Linked DNA regions of Homo sapiens: region 1 is linked to region 2. Evidence: promoter capture Hi-C in 16 types of primary human blood cells and fetal thymus (Javierre and others, 2016). All regions are on one chromosome and are shown on one strand. Each heading gives the region's core, a stretch centred on a gene start or on the middle of the fragment in contact. The rest is flanking DNA. Distances are from core to core; before and after follow the strand shown.

Region 1 (6,665 bases), core at 1,703-4,202, 520 kb after region 2:
TGCCCATCAGTCAAGGCCCAACTCTAGGCCTGTCTTTCTGGGAGCTCTTTATGCCTTTCCCAGCCCAAAGCCTTTTTCTGCTTGGAATTCCTCCTGGAATGTGTGTCCAAATGATACAGCATTCGGGCCCATGGCTTGTGCACATCCCTTGCCATTCCATGAGGGTGTAGTTTCCATAGCCCCACAGGAGCCTCCCACAGCACCAAGATCCATACCCACAGCAGTGAGCAGGGACCAGACCCAGTGCTGACTGTGGCATATGGGAAGCCCCAGGATTAGAGGGGTCATGGGCAGAGCTGTGGGCTGGGCACATCCTCAAATGGGACCTCTCAGAGGTGCCTGTGCAACCTCAGGCCCCGTGCTTGGAGGGGCCAGATTGTTTTTATTCTGTTCAGCATTTGTCACTTGACCAGTTGGCTTATGGGGTTGGTAGCAAACACAGCCCCATCCTACCCAGTGCACTGAGGAATGAACCCACCCTGTCCCAGTTCTCCAGAGGGGCCATTTGTCCTCCTGGACCTGTGCTTGCAGTGCCTCTATTGTGGTATCAGTGGCATCAAGTTGGCCAGCTGCTCTGCCCTTGAGAAAAGGGTCAGATCACAGGGGTGAAGAGCAACCTTGGAGAGTGATGCTCTGGCTTTAGAGTTCAGGGTTTCTTGGTATAATTAAAGGAAATTAGTTTGCTCTGTATGGGTCAAATATAGGCATATTCTCATGATTGTCATGTTTCTTTCTCCCAGCATTTATCAGCTGCCGCTTATTCATTGCCTTGATTTTCTTCAAAAGACAACTATAATCATTCAAAAATTCCAAGTTGGGTCCAAAATGTCAAAGGTAGGTATTGGACTCTGCCATGTGCCAGGTCATATGCCTGAGTCTGTGTCCTTCAACAGGCTGTCCTTATGATGTTCAGCAGGGCTACAGCCAGGATGCAAATGAGCTCCCGGAGCTCCTCATCTAAGAGTGTGAGGAGTGCTAGGTGGAGGAGCTGCTCTTAGCGGGGCAGCCCAAGCATTTCTTAGCATAAGCACTTCTGGGCCACCTGGAGCTTAGACCATCTGTGTCCTGGTCTCTAGCCCCTCTCTTGCCACGGAAATGGTCTCCTGTACAGAGTGCTTCAAGTGTGAGGCAAGCAAGGAACCCTAGCCTGATCCATTCGGAGCACGACCTGCTCTCCAGGCCTCACTTTATATGACAGATGGTGGTGATGGACATGTTCATTTGAAAGGCCAGGGGGCATGGTGATTTTATTCTGCCTATATCTGCCATTATTTCTCCTGGGAATACCCCCAGAGTATGCCTACTTTCAATGCTAACACACCGCAGACTGATTAGAGGAATATTGTTGACTGCTTTTGGAAAAGAGGAAGAAAAGCACATTCCAGAGGATACATACCTCTCTTGATATCAAAGTTTTTCCTGTGAAGGTTACCTTGGTTAGATTTTGGTTGGAGAGTTGAAGACATTTCAGTCTACAATGTTGTAAAAGGCTTTAAAAAATCCTCTTGTGGTATGTTTCCAATTTAACACTGAAAAAATATTTCTATTGTGCCATATATAGTGTAACTTAAAACCTAATAAAAGCTCCAAATTAGGGTTGAGCAGAATGGTTTGAATTAAGTTCAGGTAGAGGCAAGGACACTGTATCTGTAGGCTGGGGCTGCTGGCTCTCAGGCCAAAAGGCAGGTTCACACTGGGAGACTGGATCTGCCAAGTCTAGAGAGGAATTGTCTCTTCTGCCAGATTCTGATGCTCTTGGCCCTTGGCCCACAGGACTTTGATGCTGTTGGCACCTGCCCCCGGCGCAGGAAGGGCCTGGCTGTTGCTGTTCATGTCATCTTGGTTGCTTTGCAGGTTTCTCACTGGGGCCGACTTTATTAGATTTGCTGGTTACGTTTTCACTTTCAGGAGGTGTCTTTCAGCTTTTGCCTAGCCACGAAGCTTCCTTTTGAGAAGCTGCTTGTGTTCTGGGCCCCCACCCATGCAGCGAATGAATGAGCGTTGAAGTTGAGTTTGGACGTGGTTGCTTCAGTATCCAGCGGTCCTTCCCTAGCAACACAGGCCATTTAGGAGCACCACCTAAGGCTTCTTCCCCTTCCTACAGGTATGAAGAATGGGCAGGGTTTCATTTCCTCTGCAAGCAGGCAGCGTGGCTGGACACTGTATTCTGGAGCCTGGGGTGTCATCATCCTCAGGCTGCAGAATCAGCAACACTGTTCCATCTCCTCCTGTTCAGCCACAGCAGCCTCCTGGCTTCCAGGGCCTCCTTGTCCCTTGGCTTCCTTACAGAAGCCCTCTGTGTACAGCTAGTCTCCCAGACCCCTGGGAAAAGTCTCCTTTGCTGAGGAGGGATTAGTAATGCTCTTCCTCCTCTTAAAGTCCTCTGCCATGATCAGTGATAGTATTTCTGCTCTGTTACACTGGCTGGAAACATTTGAACCTGAAAGCATTAAGTTCTTTTTTTCCTTTTTTTTTTTTGAGATAGGATCTCACTCTGTCACCCAGGCTGGAGTGCAGTGGCACGATCTCAACTCACTGCAACCTCCACTTCCTGGGCTCAAGTGATTCTCCCACCTCACCCTCCTAAGTAGCTGGAAATACAGGTGTGCATCACCATGCCCAGCTTGAATTTTTTTTGTAGAGATGAGGTTTTGCCATGTTGCCCAGGCTGGTCTCAAGCTCCTGAGCTCAAAGTGATCCTCCTGCCTTGGCCTTCCAAAGTGCTGGGATTACAGGTGTGAGCCACTGCGCCCAGCCTGAAAGCATTAAGCTCTGACAGATCTTCCCATAGTCTCTAAAAGGCAAGGAGGGGTTCTCCTGCTTGGGATCCTATGTTGTATTTAATTATTTAAAAGGATGTGGTCTTACCCCACCCATGTAAGAGGGATGGGGCAGAGTTCCCAGTGTTGAGGGAGAGGGACTGTCTGGGTTTTCCATCCCCTGTAGGGTTGAGAACTATCCTGGCCTCTAGCAAATAGCCTTCCTGACCATCTTAGAGCTGTGAACCTCCTTGGTGCTGCTGGGATTTTTCAGGCATCACAGCCAGAGACCTTCTGGAAAAGGCTGTTTAATCTTCACAGCAACCTAGTCACAAAGACATTCTCCCATTTCACAGAAGAGTAAACTGAGGTTCGGATGTAGGAAACTACAAAACTGGGGAATAGCTGAGCTAGAATCTGGCTAGAGTCCTCCCCATGTTTCCTGGAAATGTGTGACTGAGTCAGAGACCATATGCTGGGGTAGAAGGGGCTGTAGCAGGACCCCAGGGGGCCAGAATTTCACAGGGCTGAAGGCAGAGAGCAGGGATTTGGGGATGTGTTGTAGATAGAGGGATGGTGGTGGTTGGGCCAGTTAGCCTTGTGTACAGGTGCGAATTGAGGGGGGCAGTGAGACATCCCAAGGTAGACAGAGTCTCCCGTTATTGCTTATTTTGTATTTTTCTTCACAAGAAGCAGCCACAACTTTCACATCTCTGGATCTTAAGACCATCTCCCTGGGGCTCGCGGAGGAAACCTGTGAGGGCAGGACAGACCCCGGCTCCCACTAGATGGCACTGTTGCAGGACGTTTTCACCCCGGAGCTCTTCTCCGGGTGTGTGTGTGTGTGCACGCGTGAATACCTGAGCTGGACAGAGAGCGTGGGTGTGGTGTGCGTGTGTGTGTTGGGCAGCCCTGGGGTGGGTCTGGCAATGCCCTGGCCCACACTTTGTGCCTCCACTTCTCTGGAATTTTTCCTTAGGACAGAAGTTTCTGCTTCTGAGACATCTTCCAAGGCTTCTGTGGGTCCTGGGTTGTGGGCACCAGATGCCAGGGAGTTATGGAGTGACCAGGACAGGTCCAGCTTGCCTGATGGTCCAGACATCTGTGGGAGACGAGTGAGTCCTGAAATCCAGCCTCAGAGACACTGCAGAGCCCCAGCAGGCCCCACACCTGGGTGGGGCAGTATTGGAGGATCCTGATGAGGACAAGCTTTTAGGGTCTTGAATGTTTCTAATACAAATAGTTGTATTTATTTGTACTGGTTGATTGGTAGTAGCTACTGGAGTGCTCTGTAGAGAAAGCTTCTGAGGCTGGGTCTGTCTTAGAAGGAAAGAATGCTGTTGTCAACCAGTGATGTCTGCCAGAGGCTTGGGACAAGAGTAACACCCATGATATAGATTTCTTCCTTATGTAAGTGATAACTTATATATGAGGATGAACCAGTATGTCAGAGAATCCTAGATATTTAGGACGTTAGAAATTATCCAACTCTATCCAACTCACTCATTTATTTCATAACTGGAGACATTGAAGCACAAATAGGCAAAATGAGTTGCCCAAGCCCACCTGGGTAGTAGCAGAGAGAAGAGTAGAAGGCAGGTTCTTGACCACCTTCTGGACACACCCTGCCTGTGTCCTTCTGGACACACCCTGCCTCTCCAGTTGGTCCAGTTCCATGTTCAGACAATGTCCTAAATACCAGATTAACTTATTTTATCTGTTGTTTGGGAGTCTTTACACATGGTTGCCAAGAGAAAGCCTCAAGTGAAGAACTGTTTGTGTTTTTATTGTGTCCCCAGAAGATTCTGGCTAGGGCAGATTTGTAAGGCTGAAGCTTGGAGAATAAATCTTAAGAGAGAAGAAAGGAAAGAAACTGGGCTCTGGATATTTGGGAGAATACAAGAACAGAGACATGGAATAGATGTGGTTAAGGGTGGCAGCTCCAGTTAAGTCCAAAGAAGCAGGCTGAGCAGACCAGGAAGGTCTGGGTTAGAGGTAAGGAAGCCTTTCCTGAGGGTGCAGGGAGCTGCCTCTGGCATGGGCGGCCTCACAATCCCTTCTGCACAAGTGGACCCAGTGGGAACCTGCAGAGCCCTGCTGAGTAGAGGAGTTCTTAGGAGTTGGAGCCAGGAGCTGCAGGTTCCAGCTCATCTCACACAAAGTGTGTCATGGGCTGTGCCTGTGCTTCACTTTCCTTCCTGGTGCATGGGGTTAGCCACCTGCTACTGCATGATGCAGTGAGAGTCAAAGGAGATAACGGTGGTCAGTCTGTGTGGGAACAAAGAGTTGATTTAAAAGCAAGCATGGAGACTTCTCCTGAGGCCTCTGTGAAGCGAACCGTAAGCCCTGTTTAACAGTCTTTTTGTTTATAGATTGGACAGTGTGGACATGGGTGTGTACCATAAGAGGGAATAACATTGAATTACTGGAACTGTCCTGTTGGGAGTAGCGATGAGCTGCGTTAGGCACTCTATCTCCTTTCATTCTTCTAATAATCCAGTGACACATATAGTATTATTATCCCCATTTTCCAGAAGAAAAAGCTAAGGCTCAGAGAAGTCAAGTTGCATGTCCAAGAATATGCACTCAGTAGGTGGCAGAGCACTTACCCCACCTGCCTGCCGTCAGGGAGGCTGCCATCTGTAAATTAGTCTGAGGGAGGACTGGCATGAGGTCACCTTGTCCAGGACCTTGTACCCATTTCCAACTGTATGTATCATCTGGACTTACCACAGGTGTCTGTGGGTGAATAAAGACCTAAAGTTTACTTCTGGGTGGGTATCATCTGTGTGTGTTTATGCACCCATGCACCTTAGGAAAGGGTGGCCAAGGTAGAATCCAGAACAGGGAGAGAAATTGTATTAGGGCTCTCCAGAACAATAGCGTCAATAGAATGTGTGTGTGTGTGTGTGTGTGTGTGTCACACACAGTGATGTGCTGCGTAATGATGTTTCAGTCAATGGTGGACTGCATATAGGATGCTGGTCCCATAAGATTATAACGGAGGTGAAAGATTCCTATTGCCTAGTGATGCTGTAGCCATCATAATGTCGAAGCACAATGCATTACTTGTGTGTCTGTGGTGACACTGGCATAAACAAATTATATAATATATACAAATTATATATTATATATGAAATTTATATATAATATATAATATATATAATATATTTAATTATATTTAAATATATAATTTATATATAATATATAAAACAAATTATATAATATATAAAAATATATATTATAGTATATTATATATTATACAATATAATATATTATATATAATATATAATATATTATAATATATAAATATATAATATATTATATATTATATTATAATATACATTATAATATATATAATATAAATTATATATAATATAAATATATATAATATATATTTATATTTATATATTTTATTTATTTTTTTAAAAAATATATATATTTATATATATTTAAATATAAATATATAATTTTTGTATATTTATATTTATATATTTATATTTATATATAATATATAATTTATATAATATACATAATTTATATAATATATATAATATATTATATAAATAATATATAAATATATAATAAATATATAATATATATTTATATATTATATATTATATATTTTAATATTTTTTTATATTTTATATATAAAAATATTATATTTTTATGTATATTTAAATATAAATATATAATTTTTATATATTTATATTTATATATTTATATTTATATATAATATATAATTTATATAATATATAATTTATATAATATATAATTTATATAATATATATGTAATTTATATTTCTATAATATATAAATATAATATATTTATATATAATTTATATATATAATATACATAATATAATATATTAATATATTATATTATGTATATTATATATATGAATT
Region 2 (7,087 bases), core at 3,060-5,559:
ATGCCTAGAGAGACCTCAGCATAAACACTGGTGGTAAACATTAAATATATTAATAGAACTAATAGGCTAAGAGGGAAAAAGCAGAACATGAAATGGCTATATACTCTGACAATGCAGATAGAGCATAACTGTTAAAACAGAGAGAGAAGAAAAAATGAGAAGAACATAAGCCAAAAAAAAAAGGTTTAATGTTTTCAGTAATCATATTGATGGTGATTTCAGAAATATAGTTCTGATACTGTCATATGTATAATACAGAATAATGAGTAAATATGGAATATTCTATTTTCTCCTATATTCTTGAGAATCATGATTCTCAGTATGGAAAAAAGGAGTTACAGTTGTGATAGAGAAGTTGTTAAGTAAAAGCTCTGTAATCTCAATCTGAAGACTGGAAGTAGAATACATTAGGTATCTTTTAACATGTGTGTCTATAGACAGATACAGGTATCCTAGCTCTGTCTACTGAAATGCCTGAAACAGTGACTAACTCAGGATCTTTAGCATTCAGACTGTAACTGAAATATTATTTCCCTCTAAATGAAACCCGGGCATTTTAAAGAAATGGCTGATTTCATATCTGCGATAGGAATTGTTCAATATATTATATAACAAGGAAGCTATCAAAAACTAGGAGGCCAGGCTCACAGTGCAGCTTGGCCAACATGGTGATACCCCGTTTCTACTAAAAATACTAAAAAAAAAAAAAAAATAGCCGATCCTGGTGGTGTGTGCCTATAATCCCAGCTACTTAGGAGGCTGAGGCAGGAGAATCACTTGAACCCAGGAGACAGAGGTTGCAGACAGCTGAGATCGTGCCACTGCACTCCAGCCTGGACAACAGAATGAGACTCTATCTCATAAATAAATAATAAAAAAAAAACAGGGAAGTGATTACTACAAAACTATAAAACCCAGAAGAATGGTGACTAAATGGGAACACAGGAGTTTTGACTGGGATAGGGTAATGGAGGGGATCTGGCATACCTGAATGGTATGGTCCTGTAATAATTTATTAAGCTATACATTTGGTATGTGATTTATAACAAAAATTTCATTTTACGCTAAAAAGATTTTGTTAAATAACAAAAAATAGAAAAGTAAAGGAAATGCTAACCTAACCAAAATAAAGCTGGTACGGGTTGAACGTTCCTAATATGAATATTTGAAATCCAAAATGCTCCAAAATCCAAAACTTTTTGAGCACCAACTTGACACCACAAGTAGAAAATTCCACACCTGACCTTATGTGACAGGTCACAGTCACAACTTCATTTCATGCATAAAACTATTAAAAATGTATAAAATTAGCTTCAGGCTGTGTGTATAAGCTGTATATGAAACAATAAATGAATTTTGTGTTTAGAGTTACCCAACTCTAAACAAGATACCTCATGTATATACAAATATTCCAATTTTTTTTTTAATCTAAAAGTCCAAAACATAGTTCCAAGCATTGCAGGTAAGGGATACTCAACCTGCAGAGCTCTGTAGCCAGACTGCCTGGGTTCAAATCATGGATTCTGCCACACAGCCAGGAGAGTACAGTACTAATCTCTGTGTGCTTCAATTTCCTCATCATAAAATAAGGATAATAAAAGTACTCAGCTCACGAGTTAAAGATTAGAAGAGTTAATATAGAAAGAACATAAAGCATTGTCTGGCACACAGCAGGATGGAGACTGTGATTAGAGTTGGTGATCAGCTTTCTGTGTTATCTTAAGTAGGTATTTAACCTCTCTGAGCTTCAGCTTCTTTGCTGAGTTGTAAAATATCTACCTGATAGGATTATCAGGAAGTCAAAAGGAAATATATGTAATGAACCTAGTATAGTACTCAATAAATATTAGATTTTTTTCCATGGCCTCCCAACATCTGGAGTCATCCGTTACATTAGACATACCTCAGTCATAGCATATTACTCTTGCACTTTACACCTGGTCATTCAGGTTGATCTCAATGAAATGATCACCCAACGAGTCTCATGTCTGAAACTGGATCTTCATCTAGGTTTCAAAAAGATAAAAAGAACAAAATCTTGAAATGTTCAACCTCCTAGTAAGAATGGTCTTGTGTTACTCCCAGAGCAGGCATCCAAGGTACTGGTAATCACAGATAAAGCAGGCACAACTGAAATAACTGCTAATGGCCTTCCCAGCTCACCATCATATGCCTCTTCCCTTCTCTTCTCTCTCCTTCTTATCTTTCCTCTCCCTACCTTGTTAAGACATTTAGCTGGGTATCCAAATCTATCATCATCTATCATCAATTCTGACTTCTGGCTCCACAGGTAGGATATTCTCATTTGCAAGGATACTAAAATGAAGCATCCTCAGACAAACTACCACTGATCACAAAAGCAAACACAGGAACAAAACTACTCCTCATTTGCACCTGTGACCAAGCCCTCCTTTTCAGAGGACCATTCTGTGAAATAAACGGGCCAATAGTTTGCAGCAGCCTTTTCCCCACTACAGGCTGTGACAGGACAAAGGTCTGGAACTTTAAAGTCACAGGAAGAGACCAAATGCTTTCTAGGGCCAAAACAGAAGCTACAGCTTTAATTACTGTCATAACACACTTAAAATAAGATTGTTGGGGGTAGGAGTCGGGGGGTAGGAGTCGGAGGGTAGGAGTTGATTTGTACATGGCATAGTAAGCCAAGCATAGAAAAGCAAAAACATAATTGCATCTTCTGGCACTTTCTAGGTTTCCCGAGTCTTTCAGCCAAATTGCCCTTTATAGGTCTGAAGCCCCTTGTAACATGCTCCATATCTTAAAATTTAATTATTTTTTTCACCATTTGGGGTGGGGGAGGGGAGCTGACAATAAACCATGGCCAATAACTGTTCCTTCTCAACTGAATCACACCAAAATCTGTAAGCATCTTCAAAAGTATATACTTCAAATTACTGCAATAAATGAACATGTAACCCTTTCGAAGTCTCTATTCCTTATTAAATGCAAAAGCTCTATTCTAAAAATATTGCAACTTGCTGTTTAATGTTCCTAAGAAAGAGCTGAACTTACCCCAAATAGGAAAGAGTTAAAATGGAATGTCATCTCAACCAAATCATTCTGTCTCAGGAGAGGTGACATGAAGGGGCAGAACCTTGCTTTGAAGCAAAAGCTGTAGGGAAAACTCCAAGTCAGCCACCTCTTCCCCAAAAGGCGGGGCAGGGGAGGCCAGAGTCTACTTGGCAATATTTAAAGTACAAAACTCATGCAGAGGCTTGAAACCAATATGGGTAATGCCTGCACAGAGTTTAATATATTATACATATATTTTTGAGACAGAGTCTCGCTCCGTCACCCAGGCTGGAGTGCAGTGGCGCGATCTCGGCTCACAGCAACCTCCGCCTCCCGAGTTCAAGCGATTCTGCTGCCTCACCCGCCCGAGTAGCTGGGATTACAGGCGCACACCACCATGCCCAGCTAATTTTTGTATTTTTAGTAGAGACGTGGTTTCATCATGTTGGCCAGGGTGGTCTCGAACTCCTGACCTCAGGGGATCCGCCCACCTCGGCCTCCCAAAGTGCTGAGATTACAGGCGTAAGCCACTGCGCCCTGCCTGTTTAATATCATTGATTGAAAAACAAAGTGGCAGTAAAAAAGGAAACTCTGATTGGTCTCTCTGTTACAGGTGACTTAGCCTTCTGGCATTTTTCACCTTGAAAAACTCCTATTAGGCCCTGTATAAAGTCAGAGGTCTCCTGAATCCGGAATGAGGTTAATAAACTGGAGAAAGAGATACTCACCTGTGCTATTCGCCTAACCGCCCCCTTCTGCTCCGAGTCCTCACTCCCCAAACAACCTTCGCGGTTGTTTGACACAAAACTAGCGCTTCAGCCCGGGTCGATTTTGGGGGATGGAGTAATTACCTACAGCTTAAATCGAGTCTGTGCCCGACGTGATTCTAAGCTTTACTCTTACTGCCTCATTTAACCCTCACAACCACCTTGTAAGGCAAGAATTACCAGCTTTAGTATACAAATAAAGAATCGGAGGCGCTGAGACATTAAAGGAGAAGCCAAAGAACACAAAGCCTGGGGAGCTGGGACTGGAGGCAGTTTTGTCCGATCCCCAAACCCTTACGCAGGGATTTTTAATTGGCGCGACCCTGTCCCAGATGGCTCCTCCCCGACAAGGGTCAGTCTGACCACTTTTAGGCCCAGGTGAGGTCAAGTCCGGGGTACTCCGGGAAGGGGCTCACGCCGACGCCTCTGAGAGCCCCGAGAGCCACTCACCTTACTCAGTCGCCGGCCTCCCACCAGCAGCCAGCCGGGCCAGGTTAGGCTGGGATCAGCTACGTCAGGCCCCGCCTCCGCGACCGTTACCACCGCCGGGGGAGGGCGGCCAATCGAGCCCGAGCGCGTCGAGGGCCAGCCCCTCTTTGGCCTGCGAATGCCCCCAAACGATTCTCTCCAGCCTCTCCGGGAAGCTGGGTCCGCCCCGCTCCCTCCGGTTGGCTCACTACGGGGGGCGGGGCTTACCGCAAACGAAGGCGTCGGTGCGATGTGCTGGTCTCGGGCACGCTGGCGCTTCCAACGCACTCCTTGGGTGCCCTGTCACTTACATGGAGGCTTATTTGCCCGGAAGACGTCAGAAATACTTGTGGCCGTGGGTGAAAGTGAAGCCTGGGTTACCTGGCCACCAGAGACTGCCCTCTCTCTCGCCCCCTACCCCGCCGCGACTACGAGCCCTTGCTGGGGTACGGGTCAGCATGTTCTCGATGTTCCAGACCTGAATGACCACTGTAGCAGCTGACATTTGGAGGACCCCAATAAATATTTGTTGACGACAGTTCATCTTCCCATTCAGCATTTTCCACATCTCGACGAAGCGTCAGGCCCTACCTGAGGCTGTAGCTGTCCACCATTGTCATTGTATCTTATAGCCACATGGTGTCGCTGTTGACAACTTGTCTTTTCAAATCAGTCAAATGATGTAGGTCTGTGTTACAGTCAAATGTTGCAACAGACTGTGTTGCAGTCAAATGATGCAGGTCCCACAGTAGCCAACAGGGATGTCCCATCTAGGGCATCAGCCAAGGGTCTCTCATCAGGAGATCCAAGGGCTCTTGGAGCTCAATACTTTCAGACCCTTCTTAGCCTTCTTCCAGGCAGCTGGGACTACACTTAGGTTTGATCTCTGTGTTTGCCCCATGCAAACATGTCCCTACCCCAACCTACGCCTACCCACTGTGCTTTCCATACCTGGATATTCACTCTAACGACGGTTAGCAGATTGCATTTTCAGTTCTCAAAATGCAAATAGTCTCAGTGCTTCCCTTTTCCAAGATAATAGGGTGCCCTTGCATACTCTTCTGAGAATGGCTGCCCTAATTGTAGAGGCCAAACATCTTTGAGTCAGTTATTATTATTTTGGATGCACGTGATATAGAATCTGAGTTAAACTGTCTTCCTAAAAAATAAAGAAGTTGCTTATCTCGCATAACAGAAAGCTCAGAGGCAAGGGAGACTTTGATTAATTCAGTGGCTAAGCAAGTTAACAAGGACCCAGTTGCTATTAGTCTCTGCTTTGTTGTAAAAAAAAAAAAGGGTAGACTTCAAATTCATACTAACGTGATTTTCCAGATGTCTACTTGGAGAAATCAGGACCACATACTTTCTTTTTCATCTAAAACCTTTCCTTCTGGTTTTTTGAGCCAATAAGTTCACACAGGCACACACTCTTCCTCTTTACCAGTAACTGCCTGGGAAATGTACAGACAGCTTAAGCCTGGGTTCCAGAAGTGAAAAGGAGCTATGACAATTGGAATTGGCAATGGTGTCAGTGCTCTTTGAGTCACATGAGTTGCAAGGTGGAGACATGGCTATTTGAATAAAACTGGAGACCTGTAAAGGAGAAGAGGAAAATGGATGCTAGATGGATGATCACCAGTATCTTTCACAGTCTTCAAAGCACAAGAAGGCTGATTCCTCTCTATTTTCTAACTGAATTTTTTATGTGGTGAATGGAGGGGAAGAGTTGCTATAGCACTGCCCTCCAAAACAATTCCCTTCTTATGGACCATGAAAGCCTTTCCAGCACCTCTCTTTGCTAGAGAAGGAAAACATCCCTGCACACAAACTTAGTCTTTCACTGAGAATCCTGCTACATTGGTCTCAAGAGTTTTCTATGGGCCTCATCTACCCAATAGAATTCTAATAATTCTAAACATTCATTTAACATTCATTCATTTATAAAAATGTGTTGGCCGGGCACAGTGGCTCACGCCTGTAATCCCAGCACTTTGGGAGGCCAAGGTAGGTGGATCACCTGAGGTCAGGAGTTCGACAACAGCCTAGCCAACATGGGGAAACCCCATCTCTACTAAAAATACAAAATTGGCCGGGTGTGGTGGCACATGCCTGTAATCCCAGCTACTTAGGAGGCTGAGGCAGGAGAATCGCTTGAACCCGGGAGGCGGAGGTTGCGGTGAGCCGAGATCTCACCATTGCACTCTAGCCTGGGCAACAAGAGCAAAACTCCGTCTCAAAAAAAAAAAAATTTTTTTGTTAAGCACCTGTTTTGTACCAGGGATTGAACTAGATGCTGAGTCAGATTTATAAGTGGGGGAGTTTACAATAGTAAGTAAGCCCAGTTGTGATTCCTGCCTTCGTGGATCTTATAGTCTAACTGCGGAGAAAATATGAAACAAATGCAATTAAGTATATATTATTAATATAATAAGTGATATCAAAGAAGAGAAGAGGGGCTATGGAGGAAGCCTCTCTGATGAAGTGACACTTAAGTTGAAAGCCAAGCATGTCTTCATTTCGGCTTTCTGCTTTCCTCTGTACTTTGGCTTCCTAGCATAAATTATAACTTTCATTAGCAGTTAAAACACATCTTTTATTTCTCAACTTCTTTTTTTTTTTTTTGAGACGGGAGTCTCGCTCTTGCCCAGGCTATAGTGCAGTGGCGTGATCGTGGCTCACTGCAAGCTCCACCCCCCAGTTCACGCCATTCTCCTGCCTCAGCCTCCCGAGTAGCTGTGACTACAGGCGCCTGCCACCACGCCTGGCTAATTTTTTTTTTTTTTTGGTATTTTTAGGGGTTTCACTGTGTTAGCCAGGATGGT

Evidence for each region. Contacts are between HindIII fragments. The CHiCAGO score rates a contact against its expected background, and 5 or more counts as called.
Region 1: a fragment that was not itself captured here is called in contact with the fragment with the promoter of CEP70 in region 2 in 1 of 17 cell types (fetal thymus); the score reaches 7.6 in fetal thymus.

What each region holds. Positions count from the first base shown.
Region 1 is chr3:139,108,472-139,115,136 of GRCh38, forward strand. It overlaps BPESC1 (blepharophimosis, epicanthus inversus and ptosis candidate 1), which reads left to right. Exons shown (of 3, transcript NR_026783.3): 2 at 741-834. Among named protein-coding and RNA genes, the nearest start is that of BPESC1, 7.6 kb to the left of the region's middle. The HindIII fragment of the contact is 2,027 bases long and covers 1,940-3,966 here.
Region 2 is chr3:138,589,951-138,597,037 of GRCh38, forward strand. CEP70 (centrosomal protein 70) reads right to left here and starts at 4,310. Exons shown (of 18, transcript NM_024491.4): 1 at 4,248-4,310; 2 at 1,904-2,006. RefSeq lists an enhancer at 4,515-4,574. The HindIII fragment of the contact is 6,508 bases long and covers 3,920-7,087 here.